3 separate regions of the Homo sapiens genome follow, and all the other regions are linked to region 3. Evidence: promoter capture Hi-C in human tissues and cell types (Jung and others, 2019). All regions are on one chromosome and are shown on one strand. The core of a region is centred on a gene start or on the middle of the fragment in contact, and the rest is flanking DNA. Distances in the headings are between cores, read along the strand shown. Region 1 overlaps USP43 (ubiquitin specific peptidase 43). Region 2 has its middle 38 kb from the start of DHRS7C. Region 3 holds the start of DHRS7C (dehydrogenase/reductase 7C).

Evidence for each region. The method cuts DNA at HindIII sites, captures the fragments that hold promoters and counts their contacts. A contact is called where the count stands out against the background at its distance.
Region 1: a fragment that was not itself captured here is called in contact with the fragment with the promoter of DHRS7C in region 3 in 1 of the 25 tissues and cell types used here (mesendoderm cells).
Region 2: a contact is called between a fragment that was not itself captured here and the fragment with the promoter of DHRS7C in region 3, in 3 of the 25 tissues and cell types used here (liver, pancreas and spleen).

Annotation. Positions count from the first base shown.
Region 1 is chr17:9,726,869-9,729,568 of GRCh38, reverse strand. USP43 (ubiquitin specific peptidase 43) reads right to left here. Exons shown (of 15, transcript NM_153210.5): 15 at 1-1,615. The coding sequence ends at 579. Among named protein-coding and RNA genes, the nearest start is that of DHRS7C, 63 kb to the left of the region's middle. RefSeq lists enhancers at 943-1,443, 1,444-1,944. The HindIII fragment of the contact is 3,953 bases long and covers 1-2,700 here.
Region 2 is chr17:9,752,347-9,755,112 of GRCh38, reverse strand. No RefSeq gene overlaps it. Among named protein-coding and RNA genes, the nearest start is that of DHRS7C, 38 kb to the left of the region's middle. The HindIII fragment of the contact is 7,521 bases long and covers 1-2,766 here.
Region 3 is chr17:9,790,327-9,793,026 of GRCh38, reverse strand. DHRS7C (dehydrogenase/reductase 7C) reads left to right here and starts at 1,435. Exons shown (of 6, transcript NM_001105571.3): 1 at 1,435-1,896. The coding sequence starts at 1,743. The HindIII fragment of the contact is 22,922 bases long and covers 1-2,700 here.

The DNA.
Region 1 (2,700 bases), core at 25-2,524, 63 kb after region 3:
TTTTTAATATATTAAATATTCACCTGAACTCTCAGCCATTTATCTCCCATCTCTCTTTGCTAGAATCTTGCCTTACCATCACTATCATTCTTTTGTTTTTTTTTTCTTTTTGGCATCTTTAATGCTTATCCCAGAAAAGCATTAAAAATAAAATATTTTTCTTTAAGTCCACAATTTAAAAAAAAAAAAGAAAGAAAAAGGAAAAGCCATTGACAGTATTTGACATGACATTGAAGATTCTTATTAAACCAGCCTCATCTTGTTTGCCCACATCCAAAACTCTTTAGTAAATATCAGTTCTTGCCCTGAAACTGGTAATACTGACCCAATAGCATCCTCTAGTGGCCAAACTGTAGCAAAGCACCCAATGATGCAGGAAGGTTTTCGACCTTGGGTTATATGGACCTTGGGTGTTGGAAGTCTAGATATGGAGACCCCCCACCACAAAAAAAAAAAAATTTTTTTTTAGAGATTACAAGACAACGGGTTTCCTGGAAACCCATTCTCAACATGAGCTGCCTACAGTTGCTTGGCAAAGTCCCAAGAATGCCAGCGTCACACAATACTGACACGCTCCATCAAAAGCTGGACTCCGGTAAGGTTTTCTTTCGACCTAAAGAAAGAGTGTGATATTTGACTCTCTGAAAGGTGCCATAAGAAGCCTGCTCCCCTGGAACAGTCCTTTGTGACATGCCCAGTGCACTGCCTCTCGGGGCCCTGCTGGCTTTACGAGGGAGGCGGAGAGAGCTGGGGGCTGACCAGACATCCCTCTCGAGCCGGCTGCCCAGGCCCCTGGCCAGGCCCTCTGGGATCCTGAGGGCAGGAGGTGAGCCTGGAGCCTGCCCGTCCATGGCAGGGCTCAGCCCGCCACTCACCAGGGAGACGGGGGGCACCTGTGGAGAGACCTCTGCCCTCTCATTCCTCCTGTTCTCCTTCTTCCGAAACACGGACCTCAGAAGGGTGAGTGTCCCCTGCAGGGGTCTGTCTAGCTCAGAGGTGCCTCGGCGACTGTCTTTGCTGTTTCCAGAGAATCCCATATAGGGGGAGGGTGGGCTGCTTTTGCTTCCCATCTGGAAGCTCTCCTTCCAGTTCATGGCCTTCTGGCCCTCCGGTCGAGCTGGTTTCTCATGCTCCACTGAAGGCATCACAGTGAGAGGCAGGTCAAACTTTCTGGGAAGCTTGATGTCCTGCCCTGCATTTTCCTTGAGTTTCCTTGCTGTGTTTGGACCATCTGAGTTTCCAGGGGCCAGACAGTGGTTGGGTTGAGCCGAGGGACAGGGCACCCCGGCTGGACCTCTTTCAATGGCCCGCCCACCATCTTCGCTGTTAGCAGGAAGGGCGACGTTGGACCTCGGCGATGCTGACTTCTCATCCTCACCCGCAGTGCCCGTCAACAGCGACACAATGGACTGGCTCGTGGACCGAGGTCTTCGTCTGGATTCCAAGTACTCCACCAACTCGACGGAGGCACCTGGTGGTTTCTCCTTGGATCCAAAGGACCACCGCAGAGGCATGGTCTTGAATGGTCCCTGCTTGGCTCGGGAAGTGGTGGGTGCCTTCATGCTAATGCTTCTGCCTTTCACGCCCCGTACCAAACGCCTGGGCTCCAACCCTCCTGAAAGAGACAGAGAGACTGTCAGTGTACAAGCCACCCTACAGCTGAAATGCCAGTCATCTAACGTTCACTGAGCACCTCTGATGTGGGAGGCACTGTGCTGGGCACTGGAGACACAGCAGTGAAGAAGCCACATAGGGTTCCTGCCTTTGGGGAACAGCAACGGTTTCACCCACTCTTCCTCAATATCCACTTACACGTTTGAAGCCACAGGGTAAGCCAGTGCCAAAGAAGGTATCTACATGCCGGGCAGCACAGACACCTGGCAAAGCTCAGTCTCACGGGCATCTAGCCTTAAGAATGAACATCAGTTTCATCTATCTTTAAATATTCCTATGAAACGGAATGCCCAGCAAAAGTTCCTGCTTTTCTAGGTCATATTAGGTCCTTGTACCTTTCAAATGCAAGAATCTCAGATATCCTACCCTGGGCTAAAAAAGAAAAAAAAAATGGAATTAAAAAAATATGGTGAAAACCACAATTACTTTTGCACCAACCTATACAACTTGTAAAAATATATACACGTGCATGTATTATGCATGCATGTGAAAACATACAAATAAGAATAGAGAAATAGATGCCAAAAACAAGGTGTGGATAGGGCCATGGCAGTGCTGTTTGTGATGGATTTTTTTTCTTAATTCTTTCCTATATCTCCACATTTCTAAAAGGAACATATGTACAACCAAGGTTGTGTATTTTTGCTTAAGAAATTCTCAGTCTTGGGAGGCTGAGGCAGGTGGGTCACAAGGTCAGGAGTTCGAGACCAGCCTGACCAACATGGTGAAACCCCATCTCTACTAAAATACAAAAATTAGCTGGGCGTGGTGGCACATGCCTATAATCCCAGCTACTCAGGAGGCTGAGGCAGGAGAATCACTTGAACCCGGGAGGTGGAGGTGGAGGTTGCAGTGAGCTGAGATCATGCCACTGCACTCCAGCCTGGGTGACAGAGCAAGACTCCATCTCCAAAAAAAAAAAGAAAGAAATTCTCAGTCATCAGTCACTGTACCATTAAAATGCCTTGTTTTACATGATGTCTGCAATCATTGAGAAAGAAATCTTCAGCTAAAACACACAATCCA
Region 2 (2,766 bases), core at 212-2,711, 38 kb after region 3:
GGACTTCCAGCCTCCAGAACTGTGAGAAAAATTCATTTCTGTTGCTTAAGCCACCCCAGTCTGTGGCATTTTGCTATGGCAGCCCTAGCACACTAATGCAGAGGGTAGAACTGACCTGGGCTTGGAGCATCCTGAGAAGAGACCATCCAGCTAAAACTACTCGGATGAAGGTGTTGGTTAAGAAGTCCAGTAGCTATTCAACCCTTGCTTTATTTGGTGTTCTTTATGAAAGGTTTAATTTTTTAAAGTGGATGACTAAGCCTTTCTCAGCATTGTAAATTAGTTACTTAAGCAAGTTTCATGTGATTTAAGAATTATTTATCTGCCATCCATACATCTCCTGTTTATAATGATCTCCAAATATTTAATTCTTTTAATTCATTTATCTTTATTAAGGTGTGTGTGTGTGTGTGTGTGTGTGTGTGTGTGTGTGTGTGTTTAAGAATCAGAATTCTGACTCAAAGGACTGTGGAGCTTGTACATAAGCATCCACCATAGTTTTGTTGTCATAAAATGTCAGGTAAGGCAAGAACCTTGTGAGGAAATAAAAAGATTCTTTAGAACTGGTCTGATGCTTAAGAATGTAAAATTTATAACCCAACAATACATTCTCACATCTTGATGCTAACAGTAACTCTGCAATTGTGTTGCTCTCACCCTAAAGAATTTTCGACAGCATTTGTGTTAACAAAACAAAACATTCTTCCATCTCTATCCTTTCCCACTCCTTAATGGATGGATGGATGGATGGATGGATGGATGGATGGATGGATAGGCAGATAGACAGATATATAGGTGGATGGATAGATAAATAGATAGATGATAGATAGATAGATAGATAGATAGATAGATAGATGTTAGATAGACGATAGGTAGAACCCAGGTCCTCTCTTGTCCTCCCATCCATATCTTTGGGTAAAAGCACCTGTTTGTTGCCGAATGAGTCCTGGATGCCAAAATGGGTGTTGTTCAGAATGTTTCCACTTACCTTTCCCTTGGGCCCAGGAAGAATCTTCAGTCTAAAGAATGAAAAGAAAAGACCCATAAGAACAGGTCTTCCAAGGAAACGAGGCAGCTCTGGGAACACCTTTTCTCTCAGGATCCTAAGGCAAGACCTATTCAGCCCTCAGCAAGCCTGTCTACCTCTAGCTCTCCGTCTGCAAAAATGCCCCCTGCCCCTGAGCTATGAGAGAAAGGACTCCTTCAAGATGTTGTTGAGAGGAGAGGGCAGGGATATGGAACTGGGATGGATTCCACATGCAGATGTGCTGGGAAAGACAGCAGATCCAGTTGCTTCAGGAAGAAAATCAAGACTTTGTCCAGGTGCCCCTTGGCCAAGACAGAAACTCCCCTCAATCAGGGGACCCACTTACCTCCAAGGAATGGTGAGGCCATTCCTGTCCCCTGAGTCAAACCTGTATTGCCTCTCCACTGGACAATCCAAAAACAAGAAACAAACAGACAAATTCATCCCTGTGCGCTCTCTGAAAGAAGAAATATGAGCCCAGAGGAGGGTAAAAATAAATACCCACTTGAGGAAAATATTCCCCCAATTCGAGCATTCAGAAGCATGCCCCAAACACTGGGACGCCTAAGGTAAACTTACTTAAAACAGAATGTTAGTGACTTTTTAAAATAAAATGTGCAATACGCTTTTCTTCAAACTTCAAGTATCTTTCTAGCTAAATGAGGTAACTCTATGTTTAAAGTCAGGAGGGGCATCTGTTAAGACACTACTGAGTGTTACCGAAGGAAAAGTTCTGTATTTTATTATACTCGTGTGTATATTTATTATCTATTTTTTAAATTTTTTTTATTATACTTTAAGTTCTAGGGTACATGTTCACAATGTGCAGGTTTGTTACATATGCATACATGTGCCATGTTGGTGTGCTGCACCCATCAACTTGACATTTTAAATAATACTTGATTATATATTTATTACTTTTTTTTTTTGAGACAGAGTGTGGCTGTGTCACCCAGGCTGGAGTGCAGCTGCACGATCTTGGCTCACTGCAACCTCTGCCTCCAAGGTTCAAGCAATTCTCCTGCGTCAGCCTCCCGAGTAACAGGGGCTACAGGTGCCCACCACCAAGCCCAGCTAATTTTTTGGTATTTTTAGTAGAGATGTGGTTTCACCGTGTTAGCCAGGATGGTCTCGATCTCCTGACCTCGTGATCCACCCGCCTCAGCCTCCCTAAGTGCTAGGATTACAGGCGTGAGCCACCGTGCCCGGCCATATAGTTATTACTTTTATGAAAAGTCCTGTATTTATTGTACTGTTCCCATATTAATATTTGGACCCTTTGATGGTCTAATGAGATCGTCATGACCTTCACCTTTATCCGAACCCTTATCCTGCTTAATTATTCACCTCCTGACATAATCAAATGTGAAGAGGTTTGGCAAGGCATGCGACAATATATAAGCAAGATTCATAATTCCATTAATGGTTCTTACTACCGTAGCAGTGATGCCAGCTACACACACCTGTTCAGGAGCACTGATGGGGATGATGCACCTGCAAGAATTTGCATAGAGATGAGGCCCTTCCATGCACGAGGAAGTATATGGGGGCAGCCACCAACAAGGGCAGTCTTGCTCATGGGCACCTGTGAGGCCTCTCCCTAGAGACCACCAGAAATACTTTAGAAGCACACTGTAGAAATTTTCAGCATTGTGAGAGCCGCTGGAATTTGCGTGATTTTCATTGATGTTGCATTTCTGCCCACAGGTCAGTAAGGCCTTGAGAAGGTTGAGTTATGC
Region 3 (2,700 bases), core at 186-2,685:
AGCACTTTGGGAGGCCGAGGTGGCCGGATCACAAGGTCAGGAGATTGAGACCATCCTGGCCAATATGGTGAAACCTCGTCTCTACTAAAATACAAAAATTAGCCGGGCGTGGTGGTGGGGGCTTGTAGTCCCAGGTACTCGGCGCGGCTGAGGCAGGGGAATTGCTTGAACCCAGGAGGTGGAGGTTGCGGTGAGCCGAGATCGTGCCACTGCACCTCAGCCTAGTGACAGAGCAAGACTGTCTCAAAAAAAAAAAAAAAAAGAAAAACTTTACACAAGAGGTTGTTTGAGCAAAGAAAATACACATACAGGTAAAACTGTATATACGCTTTTAAAAGTTAGGAAGTAGCTACCCTCAGGGCTGGAGAGAGACATGATGAGGCATGTTGGCAATGTTCTGTTTCTTGATCTGCATGCTGGTCACGTGAATATATTCAGTCTATGAAGATTCATCAAGCTCTACATTTACGTGTGTGTTTCTAATATGTACATTAAGTGTCAATAAAATTCTGGGACTTTTTTAATCTTCCTGGTTATTTCTAATTTCCAAGAAAGAAATACAGTCTTCTTTACCCCCCCCACATACGCACACACACACACACACACACGTGCACACACACAGGTGCGCACACACACACGCACGCACACACGCACACACACATGCACACACACACATGCGCGCACACACACACATGCACACACACTGCTCTTAGTCCTACTCCTGATTGGCTCAATGCTGTTTACCGCACAAATTAGGACCTGATTGTGATTGGCCTTCTGGTTTGGGATGGCTCCAGTACTTGAACTGGGTTTCTGTCTCTCCAGTTCTAATCCTACTGAGTTTCCTTATGTAATGAAAATATTTCACATTTGGGATAAATTCTTAGTATCCTCAACCGCTAAAGATAACAGTAGTTACCTTCCTACGGCCCGGGATCTATGCTAGGCCCACACTGTGCAGTATGGTTTGTCCTCCCATTGGTCCTGCCCATTTTACAGACAGGGAAGCTAAGGCTCAGAGAGGTGAGAAACACTCTCAAGAGTGTGCTCTTTCTGATATTTCCTGTCACACCTCCCAGTGGCTCTTTCTGCAAAAGGCTTCATTCTGTTTAGCAGTTTTCTATGCTTTTCATCTCCAATTAGAAAGCAAAGGCCAGATGGTCTTCTGCCACATGCATCCAAACTACCTGGAAGCTACCTGATTACGAGGGTTACCGGAAGTGAGGGCAAGGATGTTTGTGCTGAAAATCCCAGGTTTGGATCCCTCGTGCTCAGTCCCAAACTGCAGAGGAAACCTCTAATACTCAGGCAAGCCAGGAGAGCTTTGGCAAGAGCCCTGAAATCAGACCCGGCCAGCATGTGTTCCTGAATATCAGAATAGACACTATATTTACCCTGACAGCCTTTTAGTGCAACTGAAAGCTATAAATAACCATTAGGGCCCAAGCAAGTGGCCTTAACACATGGATTTTCTTCCAAAAATGCAGACCCATTTTAATTAAGTTTGTAATTAACCACTGGGGAGGGCAGGCCCCCTGGATTCGGTCTGCTTTCGGAGACACTGTGAGTAACTTCCTATTTGTTGAACATTTGGGGATTAGCACGCCCACTGGGTGTTCAGCTTGGAGGCTTGCACAGAGCTGAGCTCCCTGCAGCCTTGGGCCTCCCCCTGCCCTGGGAGTCCTGATCAGCGTCTCTTTGCAAAGCCAATCCCCTTTTACTCCGTTGTCCCCCAGAACAAGATGGGAGTCATGGCCATGCTGATGCTCCCCCTGCTGCTGCTGGGAATCAGCGGCCTCCTCTTCATTTACCAAGAGGTGTCCAGGCTGTGGTCAAAGTCAGCTGTGCAGAACAAAGTGGTGGTGATCACCGATGCCATCTCAGGACTGGGCAAGGGTAAGCTGGCTTTGCTCCCACCTGTGCCCATTTCTGCCCCCAGGGACTGGCAGGATGGCAGGGTGGCAGGGCGGCAGGGCGCTGTGTGGGCAAACCTGCTCGGTGGGAGGGGATCGATCCTGTGTTCTCTCCCAGCTTCTATCATTAACCAGCAAGTTTCCCATCTTTTGGAGGCTGCAGATTCCTGATAAATGAGGGTGGTGGAATATCTAGGGTTGCAAACTCACAGCCTAAGGGCTAAAACTGGTCTGCAGATGTGATTTGTTTTGGCTTCATGGGGTTTCCAGAAATTTTGAAAATTCAAAGCCTTTAGCTGGGGCAATGTACTGGTTGTGAGCCCAGACTCAGGAGCTGGGTTCAGTTCCTGGCTCCAGCAATGACTAGCTGGTTACTTCACTTCTCTGCCTTAAACTTCTCATCTGTAAGGCGAGGATAACAGCAGTCTCTACCTCATGCTGCCATTGTGAGGAATAAACGAGTTCATAGATGGATAGCACTTAGAACAGTACCTGGAGCTACAGTGGATATCACTCAAGGGTTAGTAATGATGATCATGAACACATATAGGCAAAACATGCCCACGCTAGTGGGCCACACACCCCACCCATCCCTATTGCATCACACTTGGCCTGATTCTTTCAATCATTACACTTTCTGGCATTGAAGGCATTTGCATTTGCAACTCCTGAATTATATCACCTCAGAGAGGCCCTTCTGCTGGTGACATCTATGACATGAGGGGCCGTAATTGTCCTTAAGTTTGCAAGATTCTGACTCTATCCTTCCAGACAATGGTAGTACAAC